Regions from separate parts of the Homo sapiens genome. Here region 2 is linked to region 1. Evidence: promoter capture Hi-C in human tissues and cell types (Jung and others, 2019). All regions are on one chromosome and are shown on one strand. Each heading gives the region's core, a stretch centred on a gene start or on the middle of the fragment in contact. The rest is flanking DNA. Distances are from core to core; before and after follow the strand shown.

The links. The method cuts DNA at HindIII sites, captures the fragments that hold promoters and counts their contacts. A contact is called where the count stands out against the background at its distance.
Region 2: a contact is called between a fragment that was not itself captured here and the fragment with the promoter of SYNJ2 in region 1, in 1 of the 25 tissues and cell types used here (spleen).

Annotation. Positions count from the first base shown.
Region 1 is chr6:157,977,917-157,985,681 of GRCh38, reverse strand. It overlaps SYNJ2 (synaptojanin 2), which reads right to left and starts at 3,819. Exons shown (of 27, transcript NM_003898.4): 1 at 3,594-3,819. The coding sequence starts at 3,720. RefSeq lists enhancers at 3,538-4,053, 4,254-4,303, 4,324-4,513, 4,054-4,569, 4,534-4,583 and a silencer at 3,554-4,133. The HindIII fragment of the contact is 15,452 bases long and covers 1-7,765 here.
Region 2 is chr6:157,296,374-157,304,138 of GRCh38, reverse strand. All of the region lies in intron 3 of TMEM242 (transmembrane protein 242), which reads left to right. It also overlaps the pseudogene LDHAL6FP. Among named protein-coding and RNA genes, the nearest start is that of TMEM242, 23 kb to the left of the region's middle. The HindIII fragment of the contact is 4,790 bases long and covers 632-5,421 here.

The DNA of each region.
Region 1 (7,765 bases), core at 2,570-5,069:
CACTGTCGCTTACTCTGAAAATACACAAAATCCATTAACAATAAGCACTTTTCCCTAAGTTTACAAGAGACAGAGACAGGAGTAGGTTTTTGTCCCATGTGCAAATAAGGGAACATCTGTTTGCTAATTGTGGATTGTTGGCCAGGGATGCTGGTACCGGCTACGGGGCTTCCCACCTGTGCTGAGAAGGCCAACTACCCTCCAGTCAGGTTCCCGAGACTTCATAAAAGCCTTTTAAATCAGTGCCAATACATTTGGCTTTTCTGCCTCTGGAATTTTTGCTCCCACTGATCTACATAAAAGACAGATTCAGATTCACAACCTAATTCTTTTAGAAGCAGGAATTTGGAATAATTCCTTCAACAATCCTGCTAGCAGGCCAGACGGCCCTAGTGTGAAGAGTTCACTTTAGAGCAGGACAGGTGAAGACAGGTGAAGACAGGTTCAGATGGAAGGAGTCCAGCAATCAACGAATCATGGACCATCCGTTTTTCCTAAAAATCACAGCCCAGTTCAAGCCCCTGTCTCCAGGCCTTGCCTGAAAATGATAAGGAACCACCCAGCCCCTTCGGCGAGAGGTACTTTTCCAGTTAGGATCCTTCAGGAATAAAATGTGCTATGAAGGGGCAGCGCCTGTGGTCATCAGGCCCAGTCCCCTCATCTCCTCTCGCCCCTAGGAAAGCAGCTATGTGCATCCGCAGCGGAGCAGGATGGAAGTTAGAATGACTCAGGGGCCGGGAAAGACCACTACCCACGAAGCAGTTACCACAACTTGTCTCTCAGCCTCTCATTACTAACTGGGAGGGACCCATCACAGGAAAACCACAGCTGAAGAGAAAAGGAAGCTACCCCCGACTCGGAACTTCAAGGAAAGGGTGAAAGGTCAAGATTAGACCACCAGCTACGCCAGCTGCCACAAGTGTCCTGTCCCATACAAAAGTAGAGATTGCAGCCTTCTTGTAAAAATTCACCTTCTCGGGTCAGGCATGGTGGCTCACGCCTGTAATCCTAGCACTTTGGGAGGCCAAAGCAGGTGGATCACCTAAGGTCAGGAGTTAGAAACCAGCCTGGCCAAAATGGCACAACCCCGTCTCTACTAAAAATACAAAAATTAGCCAGGCATGGTGGCGTGTGCCTGTAATCCTAGCTACTGGGGAGGCTGAGGCAGGAGAATCACTTGAACCCAGGTGGGGGTGGCGGTGTTGCAGTCAGCCGAGATCGCACCACTTCACTCAGCCCAGGCAACAAGAGTGAAGCTCCATCTCAAAAAAAAGAAAAAAAATAATCACTTTCTCCAAGAAAGGAAAGTAAAACAGCTAGCTAGCCCTTTGGAACACAGATGGGAATTTCAAGTTCAGAGCCATTTTATCCAATAGTGATGCATTTAGGATATGTTGAAAGTTTTAAACAACTTTCTAGTAACATAAGGCTCTCTCCTACAAACATTCTCTGGACCAGCAAAGCCACCAAATGCTACAGCTGCTTTTTAAAAATAGTTTCATTTTACTTAAACAAAACAGACTTTAAAAAATTAAGTTTTCAGGCCAGACGCAGTAAGTAGTTCATGCCTGTAATCCCAACGCTTTGGGAGACCAAGGCGGAAAGATCACCTGAGCCCAGGAGTTCGAGAACAGCATGGGCAACATAGTAAGACCCCATTTAAAGAAAAGAAAAGAAAGAGAAAAAATTAGCCAGGCATGGTGGCATGTGCCTATAGTCCCAGCTACTCAGGAGGCTGAGGCAGGAGGATCGCTTGAGCCTGGGAAGTTGAGGCTGCAGTGGGCTGTGACTGTGCCACTGCATGCCAGCCTAGGCAACAGAAGAAGCCTCTGTTTCAAAAAAAAAAAAAATTTTTTTTTAAAGTTTTCTACTGAAAAATGAATGCTAGGTTAAATGACAAATGTGGACTGCACATGAGTTGAAGACGAGCCAATTCCTTTCTTACATTCTCTGTTCTAAAATCTGGTATACTGTAATCACCACCGTGATGTAAATCTCAGCCCAAACTTCAGCTCCTAATGGAAAATATGCACTACATTACTGTCATTAATCATTTTTAAATCTTCACTTTTGAAAAAATAAAATCTCTTTTTTCTAAGCTGCTTCAAAGAATTCTTGAATGTGTATGAACTTGGCTTAATGTTGCCGTAATCCAACTGAAGGACATCTTAATCTATTTGATGAAACAGTAGTTTTGTACCATGAAATTACTCTTTCGCTTCCGATAAATGTGGTATGAAGTAGACATCTAAAATGGAATGGAAATTTCTGTGGTTTTCTTTCAAGGCCACACCAAATAACCAAACTTAGACTCTTCAGGACAGCACAAATTAGAATAATCTGAAAATAACTTAATCTACAATTCACTGCCTACTTTTGATGCTGAGACTACTGGAGACATTGTTTCAGTAATCAAGTGACTGAGAACAAGCTGGATAAATGCATGTTAATGAAATGATTAGGGAATCAGAAATAGGAGAGATAGTCCTTCCAAGACATACATCCGAACGGGAGTCGATGCATACAAATGTGAAAAGAAGGCTAGAGGCATCTACAAAGCAGCCTGCTGCATTTGCCGACCACCTCAAGTACGAGTGACCCCGGGCTGCACCTTGTTTAGCTAGGAATACCGGCAAGCTGTTACAGCTGGACGCCTAGTGGTGGGAGCTTACTCTCGGGTGTCCACATTTAGAAGTCTAACAATCAGACCTGGTTTCACGTGCTTTGGTGCTACCCAGGTTTTCCTTATAATGGTTAGCACAAAACAAGGGACCCAGGTTAGCGATACCAGGAAGCCACGCATTGAATGACATTACAGAAACAGCCACATAAAAGTCAGGTGGATGGTGTCACCTTGGCAAGCAACTTAGCCTCTTTAGGCCTCAGTTTGCTCATCTGCAAAATGGGGATAATAATAGCTTTTTAGTAGAATTGTGAGAATTAAGTGAGATCACGTACTAAAGCCCATAGCACAATGCCAGTTTCAAGGCTTCTGAAGTCCATAGGTGAAATTCGCTGGCTTGGCAGGATCTAAGACAGCATAAAGGTCATGGTATATTTGTTTACAAGTTCTATAAATTGCAGCACCGATGCTTCTCGACCAAGTATTTACGTGGGACAAAGCTGCCATCAGCGGTTTCTCCAGAGCCTATGTTTTGGGGCTTTTGTCCCCATCCCCTCCAGGAGTGGAGCCGCCAACACAAACCAAAGGGCAATCACTGGTTTCATCAACAGGTGCAAAAGAAAAGGCGCCAGGCACAGGGTCAGGCCGGCTAAGTCAACACCCCGGGATCCTCATGAATACGCAAAGCGCCCCAGCCGGCTATCCAGCAACCATATCCTCTGGCGGCGCGGGCCGGAGATCCCCGTGGAGGGGCGGCCGGCCTCCGTGCGCCACCGGCCCAGCCAGAGTGCTCTCTCGAGTCCCCAGCCCCACTTCATTCAAACAGCCACCCCTCTGCGCGCGACCCCTACGCCCCGGCAGTCCCAGCGCCGCCCGATCCCCTCGGGAAGGGGGGGTACCCGTCTTCCCGAGGCTGGGCGAATGCGGGCGCCCTCTCCTCCGGGCGTCGCTGCCCCCGGCCCGGACTCACCCAGCGTGGCCACCGTGCCGGCCTCGAACAGCAGGCAGTCGTCGCGGCCGCGCGCCTCCAGCAGCACGCTACAGTCCCCCTCGGCCCCCAGGCGCCCCAGCAGCCGCAGCCCTTTGCTCAGGGCCATGAGGGTCGGGCCCACTGCGGGCGGGGGCCGGGGCCACGTCCTCCCGAGGGCGCGCTGCCCGCGACAGCTCCCCGCGCGCCCGCAACTTGCCAGAGTTTCACTTTGCGCCGCCGCTCCCGCCGCGCCAGGCTCCTCCCCGGCCTCCTCCCCTTCCTCCTCCTCCCCACTCGCGCCTCCCCAGCCTGGGGCAGGTGAGGGCGCGCCGCCGCCTCCCGCCCGGCCCCGCGCTCCCCCCAGCGGCCAGGCAGCTGCGCGAGGCCGCGCCCCGGGGCTGAGGCTCCCCGCAGGCGGGCGTGGAGCGGAAGAGCCTCCCGGATGCCACGCATTCCTCGCTGCGGAGGAGGATGCCCCGCGCGGGGCGACCCCGGGAGCCTGGCTGCGATGCCGGCCGCCCGCAGCCTTATATGGGCAGCCCGGCCCGGGAGTCCGCCAGGCTGGACCCGCTGACTGTTCCCGCCGGGGGCGCTGCGCCTCCCTGTGTGGTCGGCTCCTGCGACCCTGGACGAGTCCTTTCGACCCTGCGTGCCTCGGTCTCCCTGCGGGGAAGCGGGGTCATAACTGCGCCTACTTCGGCGCGGAGGCCTGAGTTAATTCGCGGAGGCGCTTAGCGGGTGCGGAGCGCGTGGAGCGGGCTGGAGAAAGGTTACCTTTCACTAGCGTTCTATCCCGGAGGCTGTTGCGGTCACCGACCCCGCCAGGGAGAGGTGTTGGGGGTCAACGGTGCGTTGTCGCGAAGAGACCTGGAGCCGTGATCCCCAGACCACGACCCCCACTTACCACGTGACCCTGACTTCTCTGCGCTCCACCTTCCTCTCCTGTCAGATGGTGACAGCGCCTCTCCCACCGGCTCTGGACACCGGCACGTGTCCGCGCGTGTACGCTGGAGTGTGTGGCCCGGCCTTCTGGCGCGGGGTTCTAGCGCCCAGGCTTGGCCTGTCAGAGCTGCAGGGGAGGTGGGGTGGGTATGGGTGTTTAGGGCTGAGTTGGAGTCACTCTTTGGGGTGGTTTGGCGGCTTAATTCCCTTCGCTTGTGATGGGTACGTGAGGATGGCCCGAGAAGCCTCCATCAGCTGTTTCCATCCTGCCCGCAAACGAACTCAGTTCCTCTCTCACCCCATTCTGCTGTACTGGGCCAAGCTGTTTGTCTCTGGGACTTGTCCTAGAAAGGGCAGAGCCCCCAGAGCCAAGCAGAACACTGCCATGCCCCTGCAGACATTCAGTAATGACCAGACAAGCCATCCTCAGGGGACAACCTCTCAGGTGATGGTTGGGTAATAAATTTGAACAACCCCAGCAGAGATTATCTTGACCCTTAGCCCCTTTCCTTGCCCACAAACTCTGCCCAGGTCAAGCATGATGTGCTCAATATCCCAGGCATGATGCTCATCAGCTGTCCGAGCAGCTTCTTTCTGTGTAGATGGAAACATTACTACCTCATGAAAACAGTGTGCCCATTCAGTGAGGCAGATCAGCCTTTGGCCCACTTTTTGACCTGAAACTCACTTCTTCCAGGAAGCTTTCCTGGAATGCTGAGGTCCCAGATAATAGTGCTTATATAACACCCAGATTTACAGACTTCAGTTCTCACCTACTCATATGTTGCTTGAGAAGTGTTTTTATGTTTTCTCTTAGCCCTGTTTTGCAAATTGAGTGGTAAGGCCTTAGGGAGGGGACCCAGTCTTCCATTTATCTCTCTCTCCTCTTTCCTAACTAGCATCATATAGTCTAAAGTCCTGCACAGTGGCATGCCATACCTATTTTAGAAATTTTCCTGCAGTCAGGACCAGCAGTTGAGCCTCACAGCTTATAGAATCCAAGTCACCATCAACTGTAAAATGAACCACTATTTTATGTACCACTGAGAAAAAAAAAAAAACTTCCAATTAAACTAGAACATGCCACCAATAGTCATCTCTGCCCTGATTTAGACAATGTTAAAATGCACGTCTCAGACTCAAGGAACTACAGTGGCTGTTCCTCCGTCTCTGAGAAATGGCTGGGTGAGCCAAGAGCCTGCTGGGTTTTGGGGCCTCTGCTGTCTGGTTTCAGGTGGGACAGCCCACCTGGGTGGCAGAGGGAGCAGCTTCCTCACATGCGCACTGGCTTGATAGACCAAGGGTACCCAGGCACAGGCACCTTTCGCAGATGGAGCAACTGACCTTGAGGCCTTCAAGGAAAAGGTTGGCTCAGACACCTAAACCCCCAGCGGCGTTTGGGCAAAGGGGTGGGCCCATCTGCGGCAGGAGAGTTGGGCGCTTCCCCTCTCTGAGATGTATAATGCCTGGAGGGTAGGGAATTGGGAAGGGGAGGAGATGGGGAAGGAAGCAAAAGCCAACTCCACCAGCCCCAGAGTAAGCCACAGCAGGAAATGTAGCTCAGCGTGGTGTGGGTGAGGGAGTCAGGAACCCCAACAGGTTATCAGAGGAAACAAAGAGGGGAAGTAGGGGAGACATGCACTGAACGTTTGAGCCACCCTATCCCCACCCCCTGTTGCCCTACCAAATCCATATGTTGAAGCCCTGACCCCCAGTGGAATGGTTTTTAGAGATGGAACCTTTAGGAGCTCGTTAGGGTCAGATGACGTCATGCCAGTGGGGCCCTCTCAATAAGAATGATAGGATTAGTGTCCTTAGAAGAAGAGACAGGCCAGGCGCGGTGGCTCATGCCTGTAATCCCAGCACTTTGGGAAGCCAAGGTGGGTGAATCACTTGAGATCAGGAGTTTGAGACCACCCTGGCCAACATGGCAAAACCCCATCTCTACTAAAAATACAAAAAAATTCACTGGATGTGGTGGTGTGTGCCTGTAATCCCAGCTACTCGGGAGACTGAGGCAGGAGAATCACTTGAACCCGGGAGGCAGAGGTTGCAGTGAGCAGAGATGGAGCCACTGTACTCCAGCCTGGGCAATAGAGCACGACTCTGTCTCAAAGAAGGAAAAACAAAAAAAAAAAAAAAGAAGAGACACAGAGGGAAGGGCCTGAGCATCTGCCGGCCAGGAAGACGGCCCTCAGCAAGAGCCACATCAGCTGGCACCTTGATCTCAGAATTTCTAGCTTCTAGAACTGAGAAATAAATTTCTATTGTTTAAGCCACTGGCCTGTGGTATTTTATTGCGGAAGCCTGTATTATTAGTCTATTTGTGTTACTATAAAGGAATACCTGAGACTGGGTATTTATAAAGAAAATAGATGTCATTGGCTCACGCTTCCACAGGCTGTACAGGAAGCATGGTGCTGGCGTCTGCTTCTGGGGAGGCCTCAGGAGGCTTACAGTCATGGTGGAAGGCAACCAGGAACCAGCATGTCACGTGGTGAGATTAGAGCAGGAGAGCTGGGGGGAGGTGCCGCACTCTTTCAAACACTCAGATCTCCCGTGAACTAACTGAGCAAGAACTCACTTATCATCAAGAAGATGGTACTAAACCATTCATGAGAGGTCCACCCTCATGATGCAATCCTCCCACCAGGCCCCACCTCCAGCACTGGGGATTACATTTCAACAGGAGATTTGGAGTGGACAGACATCTAACCCCTATCAGAGCCCGAGCCGAGTAAGACAGGAGAGGTTTAAAGGAAATACAAATCTGTATTTGGTGCCTGATTGTATGATATGAGCTGCACAAAGGAAAGTGGGAAGTCAGACAGGACCCTGGCATTTTGAGAATGGGACAGCAGCGATACCATCCCAGAGTGAGGAGGAGGCGAGTTTAATTGGAGACAGAGACCGGGTGGGCAGGTCGTCCAGTGGGAAATGCCTACAGATGAGGGGCCAGAAATGAGTATGGCAGCGATCAAAGGGGAGTGGAGACAGACAGGGGTAGAAGGCAGGGGCAGGAGGAAAAGACGATCAAGAAGTACCCCGAGAAAGCAGAGGGGCCAAGGGCGTGACCTGGACAGCTCTGGATCTCACATGAACTGAGTGAAAACTCATCGTCTAGAGGATGGCGCTAAACCATTCCTGAGGGCTCCTCCCTCTCAGAAAAGGAGGCATTTTTTAACAGACCGGAAGGAGGTAAGAGAAACAGCCATCAGGCATCTGGGGCT
Region 2 (7,765 bases), core at 1,777-4,276, 680 kb after region 1:
TAAGTTTTCCTTTTTAATGATTAACACAAGTGGCTCTTTTATATTGCATCAGAAATTATGTATAAGATGCTGCTTTCAAAGAACAAAAATGTGATTGGGGTTATTTATTAGAAGAGCTTGCCAATTCATTTCATATTTAAATACCGTAAACAGGAAGTTGATCCCAGCATTGCTCTTTGAATTGACTTTTTGCCTTTATTCTATTCTTTGTGGCCCTCTATTTGTCTTTCCTCCAGTTTTCCCAGTGTTGCTGACAAAGTAAAATATTTTCATGTGCTGGGATTTGCAGAGACCCCCCCCTCCCCCCGCCACCATGAGAATTACTGAGCAATAGAATTAGAGCCCACTAATTTATTTTAAAACTACAATTTGCATTCTATGATTTTTCAAATCACAAAGAAGACTTTCAAAATAATTGTGTTCATGCTGGTGAGTTTATGGCCTATTTCAGATCAGCTTGTAATAATTAACACTGCTTTCATTTTATCCCTTTCCCCTAAACCAAGGGTTCTGTGTGCTGATTATTTTTTTAAAGCTTTCCAAAGAACAGAACATTTTAAATAACTTTAAAGGATAAAAATAGTTTCTCTGCCACTGCATATTTGTTTTACTGCATTTCTAACACTGTAATAGATTTTTGTTTTTGTTTTGTTTTTTAATGTTTTAACTTGGTAAAAGTGGGTATTGGCTTTGAAAATAGCCACAAAATCTTTTAGCTTATCCAAAGCTTTACTTGAAATATATGCATCAACTTTCTAAAGATGCCCCAGTGGGTGCCACCTACCCATTTTACTTACCCTCATTTTCAGAACTCTCTCTAGATGGGGTCTGTGGCCCCGCCTTTCTGTCTCTCTCACCTTTTAGCCCACTCCCCAGCCTTACTCACTCAGCTCTACAGTTCCTCATTCTTTTCTACTACATTTACCAAATCCCTATTCGTGGGCCCAGCTCTGTTCTAGAGGACAGGGATATGCTGGTAAATAAAAGGTGATCCTTCTTGCAGTGGCACATTCGTAAGTATTTTACATTTAACTGTGTGTGATAAATCCTCTAATGGAGAGAGGTACAAAGTACAGTGGTGACATAGGCTTTTAGAAAGCCAGTTCTGCTTAGGGGATTGGCAAAGATTGGTGAGAGAATGGAATATCAGAACTGGACTCCCGGAGAGGAAAAGGAGGATTTGAGAGCTGGGTGTGAGTCCAGGTGAAAGGAATAGTGACTTAGTGGCAGCCATTCTTGGCCCAGGGACTTGCTGGTTGTTTTCATTTCCTGCTTCCTCCCTCCTAAGTGGTACAACCGAAAGTACTGAGGTGTAATCCTGCCATTAGCTATAATACTGTACTGCGTTTTGAATAGATAATTTGAGTCAGGTTTTCAATTCAGAAGGAATAATGAGCCACCTAGGATAGGAAGTCACTAGGGAGCTGTCTAGCTATACTTGGCTTTCCACATCTTTGAGTAGACCTAAATATGCTCTGGAGGTCACATACATCTCTTCGTCTTTGTTAGTGCTTTCCTTTTTTATCTCAAGACTTATTGTAAATAAAAAAGCTGCTTTGTTTGGTATGTTTTTATTTTGAACAGTTTTTTTTCCCCCTCAAGATTGATTTAGTTGTGGCTAAGGGGAAAAACTGAAGAGGCAGCTATTAGAGAGATTGTATTTCTGAAGAGGTTCAAACGATAGAAAGAAAATGACTATAGAAAGTAGCCATCCCGCGAAGAGTCTTTATGTCCTTGAATTTCATGTTCAACAACACTTATCTTGGAAAATGACTTGACTGGTGAAAGGAATCATTATAGGTGGATGGTGGGAACAGTCACCAGGTTAAAACATTTCAAGTTATGACTGAGATAAAAGAAATGACAGCTATCAAAAATTGTTGCTTTTAAAGGATTCCTCTAAAACATTGGCCACCATTAAATAAAGATGACCCTTTTAAAACTGCAGTTTTTAATTTGACAAATGTTAACCAAAAATCTGACCACCAGTGCTAAGAGGATTCATGTACCTAGTCCCCTTACCATTTGGTTTGTGGCTCTGTCATCTGAACGGGGTATCTGATCCTTACTGATAGGGAAAACATGGCCAGGAGGTCACCCTGAAACAGGATGTCAGGAACTCAGCTGATGGCACACCTTTCCCACCCTCACCAACTCCTTTGCTTATTGTTCCTCTCCTCCTGGACTGCCTTTTTTCTTCTTTTGTTGAGACGGAGTCTTGCTCTATCGCCCAGGCTGGAGTGCAGTGTCATGAACTTGGCTCACTGCAACCTCCGCCTCCAGGGTTCAAGCAATTCTCATGCCTCTGCCTCCTGAGTAGCTGGGACCATAGGCACACACCACCACACCCGGCTAATTTTTGTATTTTTAGTAGAAATGGGGTTTCACTGTGTTGGCCAGGCTGGTCTCGAACTTCTGACCTCAAGTGATCCACAAACTCAGCCTCCAAAGTGCTGGGATTACAGGTGTGAGCCACTGCGTCCAGCCCTGGACTGCCTTTCAATGGCACAAATAAGAATAGCTTTTCGGCCAGGCGCGTTGGCTTATGCCTGTAATCCCAACACTTTGGGAGGCCGAGACAGGCAGATCACCTGAGATCAGGAGTTAGAGACCAGCCTGACCAATATGGTGAAACCCTGTCTCTACTAAAAATACAAAAATTAGCCAGGTGTGGTGGCAGGTGCCTGTAATCCCAGCTACTCGGGAGGCTGAGACAGGAGAATGGCTTGAACCTGGGAGGCAGAGGTTGCAGTGAGCTGAGACCATGCCATTGCACCTGGGCAACAGAGCAAGACTCTGTCTCAAAAAAAAAAAAGTAATAGCTTTTCAAGTCCAAATATAAAGTATTCATTTTGTCAGCATTCAATATTCTAAAGCGGAAATCTTTTTTTTGCTGATCATGAGGAGCTACATGTACCAAGGGGCCCCATTCCAGAAGAGCACACTGCTTTTAAATAAAACAAGAGGGAGAGCTTTTGAGGAACCATTACACGGGCAGAATGCTGTTTATAAGTGAGGAGAAAGTGCCATCATTTTTTTTGGAGCTTTTGTAGTTTACTGGGCTTATTAGGGTATGCATTTCATCAGATGTGAAGTTGACACCTCCTCAGAAACTGTAAGGGAATTTAGTTCTTAAGATTGCCCAGAGAAATGCTGAAGAAATAAGGCATACTGATGCCACGTTGTACTAGATCATTTATTTCACTACTTTGGTCAATAATCTGATTTATGCATTGGTTGAAACTTGCCATTTTAAGGACTTTTAAGAGATATCCTCATTTTAATTGAGGACTGCATTGCCAGCTTTCTACCTGAGAAGTCGTTTTTCTTCGGGACGCACAATCAAAGGCTTTCCTCTAGCATGAGAAAGGAATAGCATTCTCGCCTGGTGAATTTTTAGTGATGGGATGACTCCCAGCGGGCCCCTACCCTGCTCAAGCTCCTGCTGACTGTCCCAGTGTGGGTCCTGGCCAGAACTGGCACCAAGGCAGTGGGATCCTTTATAAATAGGCCTCCGGCGCCATACACCAGATAGCAGGAGCCCACTTCTGGGACACTGGGAGATGGTGCAGGCAACCACCCGTATGCAAAGCACAGCGCCCTATCCTTCCCGGCAGGGTCACCGTTCAGAAGATGTAACCTGATTTTCATCCGTAGTTAATAGAAGCATTTTTCCTTGGCATTCATACTAAAAATAGAAAACTAGTAATTCCGGGGATCTGGGTTAACCTCTTAAGCATGTCAACTATCGATGAGAATACTCTTTGTAAAACTAACTCCAGAAATCACTTGCTCGAGAAGCAGCCCTTCACTGCCTTAGTCTCAGCACCAACGGAAAGTACATGTTGAAGGCGCTGGCAAGGCCCGCGCAGCCGCAGTAGAGGGCCAGGGGGCGTGTCTTGCGCACTCGCCACAGAGGGCTGAAGGTGCTGCTAATGGCTCTCTTGGCGTTGCGACGTCCTGGTCAGCAGTTTTCTTCCATTCTCTCCCTCCATTTCTTGAGTGAGCAGCCATGAGTTGGACTGTGTCTGTTGTGCAGGCCAGCCGGAGAGTGAGCTCGGCAGGAGCGAATTTCCTGTCCCTGTGTCCCAGTCAGGCAGCGCGCATGCCGCTCAAGGGCGCCTGGCTCTTCACCCCCGTGAAGAGTGAGCTTGTTGAGCGCTTCACTTCCGAGGAGCCCGCTCATCACAGTAAGGTCTCCATCATAGGAACTGGATCGGTGGGCATGGCCTGCGCTACCAGCATCTTATTAAAAGGCTTGAGTGATGAACTTGCCCTTGTGGATCTTGATGAAGGCAAACTGAAGGGTGAGACAATGGATCTTCAACATGGCAGCCCTTTCATGAAAACGCCAAATATTGTTTGTAGCAAAGATTACCTTGTCACAGCAAACTCCAGCCTAGTGATTATCACAGAAGGTGCACGTCAAGAAAAGGGAGAAACGCGCCTTAATTTAGTCCAGCGAAATGTGGCCATCTTCAAGTTAATGATTTCCGGTATTGTCCAGTACAGCCCCCTCTGCAAGCTGATTATTGTTTCCAATCCAGTGGATAACTTAACTTATGTAGCCTGGAAGTTGAGTGCATTTTCCAAAAACCGTGTTATTGGAAGCGGCTGTAATCTGGATACTGCTCGTTTTTGTTTCTTGTTTGGACAAAAGCTTGGTATCCACTCTGAAAACTGCCACGGATGGATCCTAGGAGAGCATGGAGACTCAAGTGTTCCTGTATGGAGTGGAGTGAACATAGCTGGTGTCGCTTTGAAGAATCTGAACTCTGATACAGGAACTGATAAAGATCCTGAACAATGGAAAAATGTCCACAAGTGATTGCTAGTGCCTATGAGATTATTAAAATGAAAGGTTATACTTCATGGGCCATTGGCCTATCTGTAGCTGATTTAACAGAAAGTATTTTGAAGAATCTTAGGAGAACACATCCAGTTTCCACCATCATTAGGGGTCTCTGTGGAATAGATGAAGAAGTATTCCTCAATATTCCTTGTGTCCTGGGAAAGCTGACCCCTGAAGAGGAGGCCCCCCTGAAAGAGAGTGCAAAAACACTTTGAGAAATTCAGAAGGAACTGAAGCTTTAAAGTTGTCTAAAACTACCATTCTGAAATTATTGAAGAGATCATAGATATAGGGTTATATATCAAAATTTTGAATAAACTTAAATTCCTAAAATATGGAAACAGGAAAGTGGATAAAATGACTTACCTATTTATTTAGTCCTCCAGCTCTTTTATTTAGCATCCAGGTGCTGGGTGATACTTATTTACAATTCCTAAAGAAAGTGTTTTTGGTACCCCTGATGTAGCAGCACTTGCCTTGTTATATATGTAGTTGGCATTTGGTTCCCAAAAAGTAGGATGTAAGTATTTATTGTGTTCTAGATATTCTGATTATTTTCATTAGATACATGCTTTCTTCTTGCTGGCTTATACCTATGTTCATTTATATGCTGTAAAAAAGTGGTAACTTCCTCTACAATGTAAAAATAAAAGTATATACGTACAGGTATTTTTTATAATGGACCCATCTTGAAACCGCCTTCATTTCCTCTGGGACGGCCTTTCAGCTGGGTCGTTAAAAAGACATGAAGTGGGGACTGCAGCTGCATGTTGGGCATGTGTGTACATGCACACACTTGTGTATGTGCGCACACCAGTGAAGCAGGATCATTTGGTTAAGATATGAAAATAGTGATCTGATGGTAGCTGTTATAAAATGTTTAACGCAGTAATTCAGAAAGCTTTTAGAAAGAGGCTTGACAGTCAGAGGTGGTATAGTTACTGTTGTTTGTTTGGCCGGGAAAGGAAACTTCCCTAAATTTTGCAGTTACTAAAAATAAAGCCTGACTGAGTAAAAATCATTTTAGAATCGCTCCTGAGAACCTGACCTGTTAGCGCATTAAATCAAGAAGCATGTTAGAAATTGTTCTTACTGAGCAGGATCTTAGCTTCAGAGTGGCCCTGGCTCTAAGAGCCTCCTGGGTTATTCCGCTCTTCAGTTTATTTCATGTTTACAGAAAGTTTTTGCTTTTGAATTTGTGCCTGATTGTTAATTACTGTCATAAAAATTGGCCATTTTGATGCATACTTCAGGGATTGTATTTCTCAGAAAGTTACATGTGTGCTTTGTATTTCTAAATCAATTGACTTTACTACAGATTTTGGACTTTATGCATGTGATACAGTGAAAGTTGGGGAGAAAGTAAAAATGTTTGTCTGACATTTATCTAAATAATAGGATTAGTAGCTTAGAAAATGGAAAGCTGAGATGTAAAAATTCACATTCGCTTTCCTAATGCAGTTGAATATTTAATAATACGGTATGTTCAAATACATTTCATCTCAGGATCCATGTGGATAGCAACAAAACTAGTCAAAAGTGAAAATATCAGTATCTGCCCTCTAAACCAGGCCAGTCCTGCTTAGTTGAATTTTATCAAGCATGATGGTGATCCTCCAAAACACTGACCCTTTTCTACCCTGACCAGAACTCCCATACTGCTTTATTGAAAACATCTAGAAATGTTGATTTCTCAGGAAGCAGTGTCATATAATGGGACTCACTGATGTGCTGGGCTCCTTGAAAGTGGGAAGAGAAGAGTGGTGGTTTCAGTTCTAGGCGGTTTTAGGAGCTTTTGAGAGCTCAGCTGCGGAATTTGAGAGCTTGTAATTCCAACAACTGCCTATTTATTGGAATTGATGCTTAAGGACTTTCTGAAATTAATTAAATTGGGGACATAACCTGAGGCTTTTAAGTAACTTTTCAGCATACTGTATATTAGACCAAATGTTTTCAAGTGTTTTTCCCCTACCAAGACATGCATGGTAAATGTGCAGCAGTGTCCCCTGTGCATATTCAAGCAGGATACACAGTAAGCACATAGGCTGTGCAGTCAGATTTGCTCTTACCAGCCATGGCACTGAGCACATTGTTTCGTTTCTCTGAGCTTCCATCACCATAGCTTTAAAGGAGGGATGATATTTGCCCCACTTGGTTGTTGGGAGGGTTAAATGAGAAATATGGCTGGCATACAGTAAGGACTCTCTAAGTGGCATCAGTGGTTGGCCTCACTCCTGGCCTACTGGCTATATGGCCTATTGAAATGTGAACGAGAATAACATTATTAGAGGCATAATCCTGAATCTGTTTTAATGTCTAAAAAGGCCATTGTATCTACAGAACATCCATATTTGTGACAAATTACTTGTAATACATTTTCCATTTGTCTTGACATTCCATTTGAGCACTACTACCTCAGATGGTGGTACTTTCTGTGACTATGACAATGCAGCACTGTTGGACACAAAGCATTGGGACTTAGAAATGAGGATGGTGGGCCCACGGCACTGGGGAGTAATACTCATGTCTTAGATGAGGATGGTGGGCCCACGGCACTGGGGAGTACCATTCATGTCTTGGTTTTGTTTAGTTTTGGTTTCTTTTGAGATGGAGTCTCACTCTGTGGCCCAGGCTGGAGTGCAGTGGCATGCTTTTGGCTCATTGCAACCTCCACTTTCTGGGTTCAAGCAATTCTCCTTCCCCAGCTTCCTGAGTAGCTGGGGCTACAGGCGTGCGCCACCATGCCTGGCTAATTTTTGTATTTTTAGTAGAGACGGGATTTTACCACGTTGGCCAGGTCTCGAATTCCTGGCCTCAAGTGATCCAACTGTCTAGGCCTCCCAAAGTGTTGAGATTACAGGCGTGAGCCACCACACTCCACTCATGTCTTAGTTTTTATGGAAAGCACCCCCT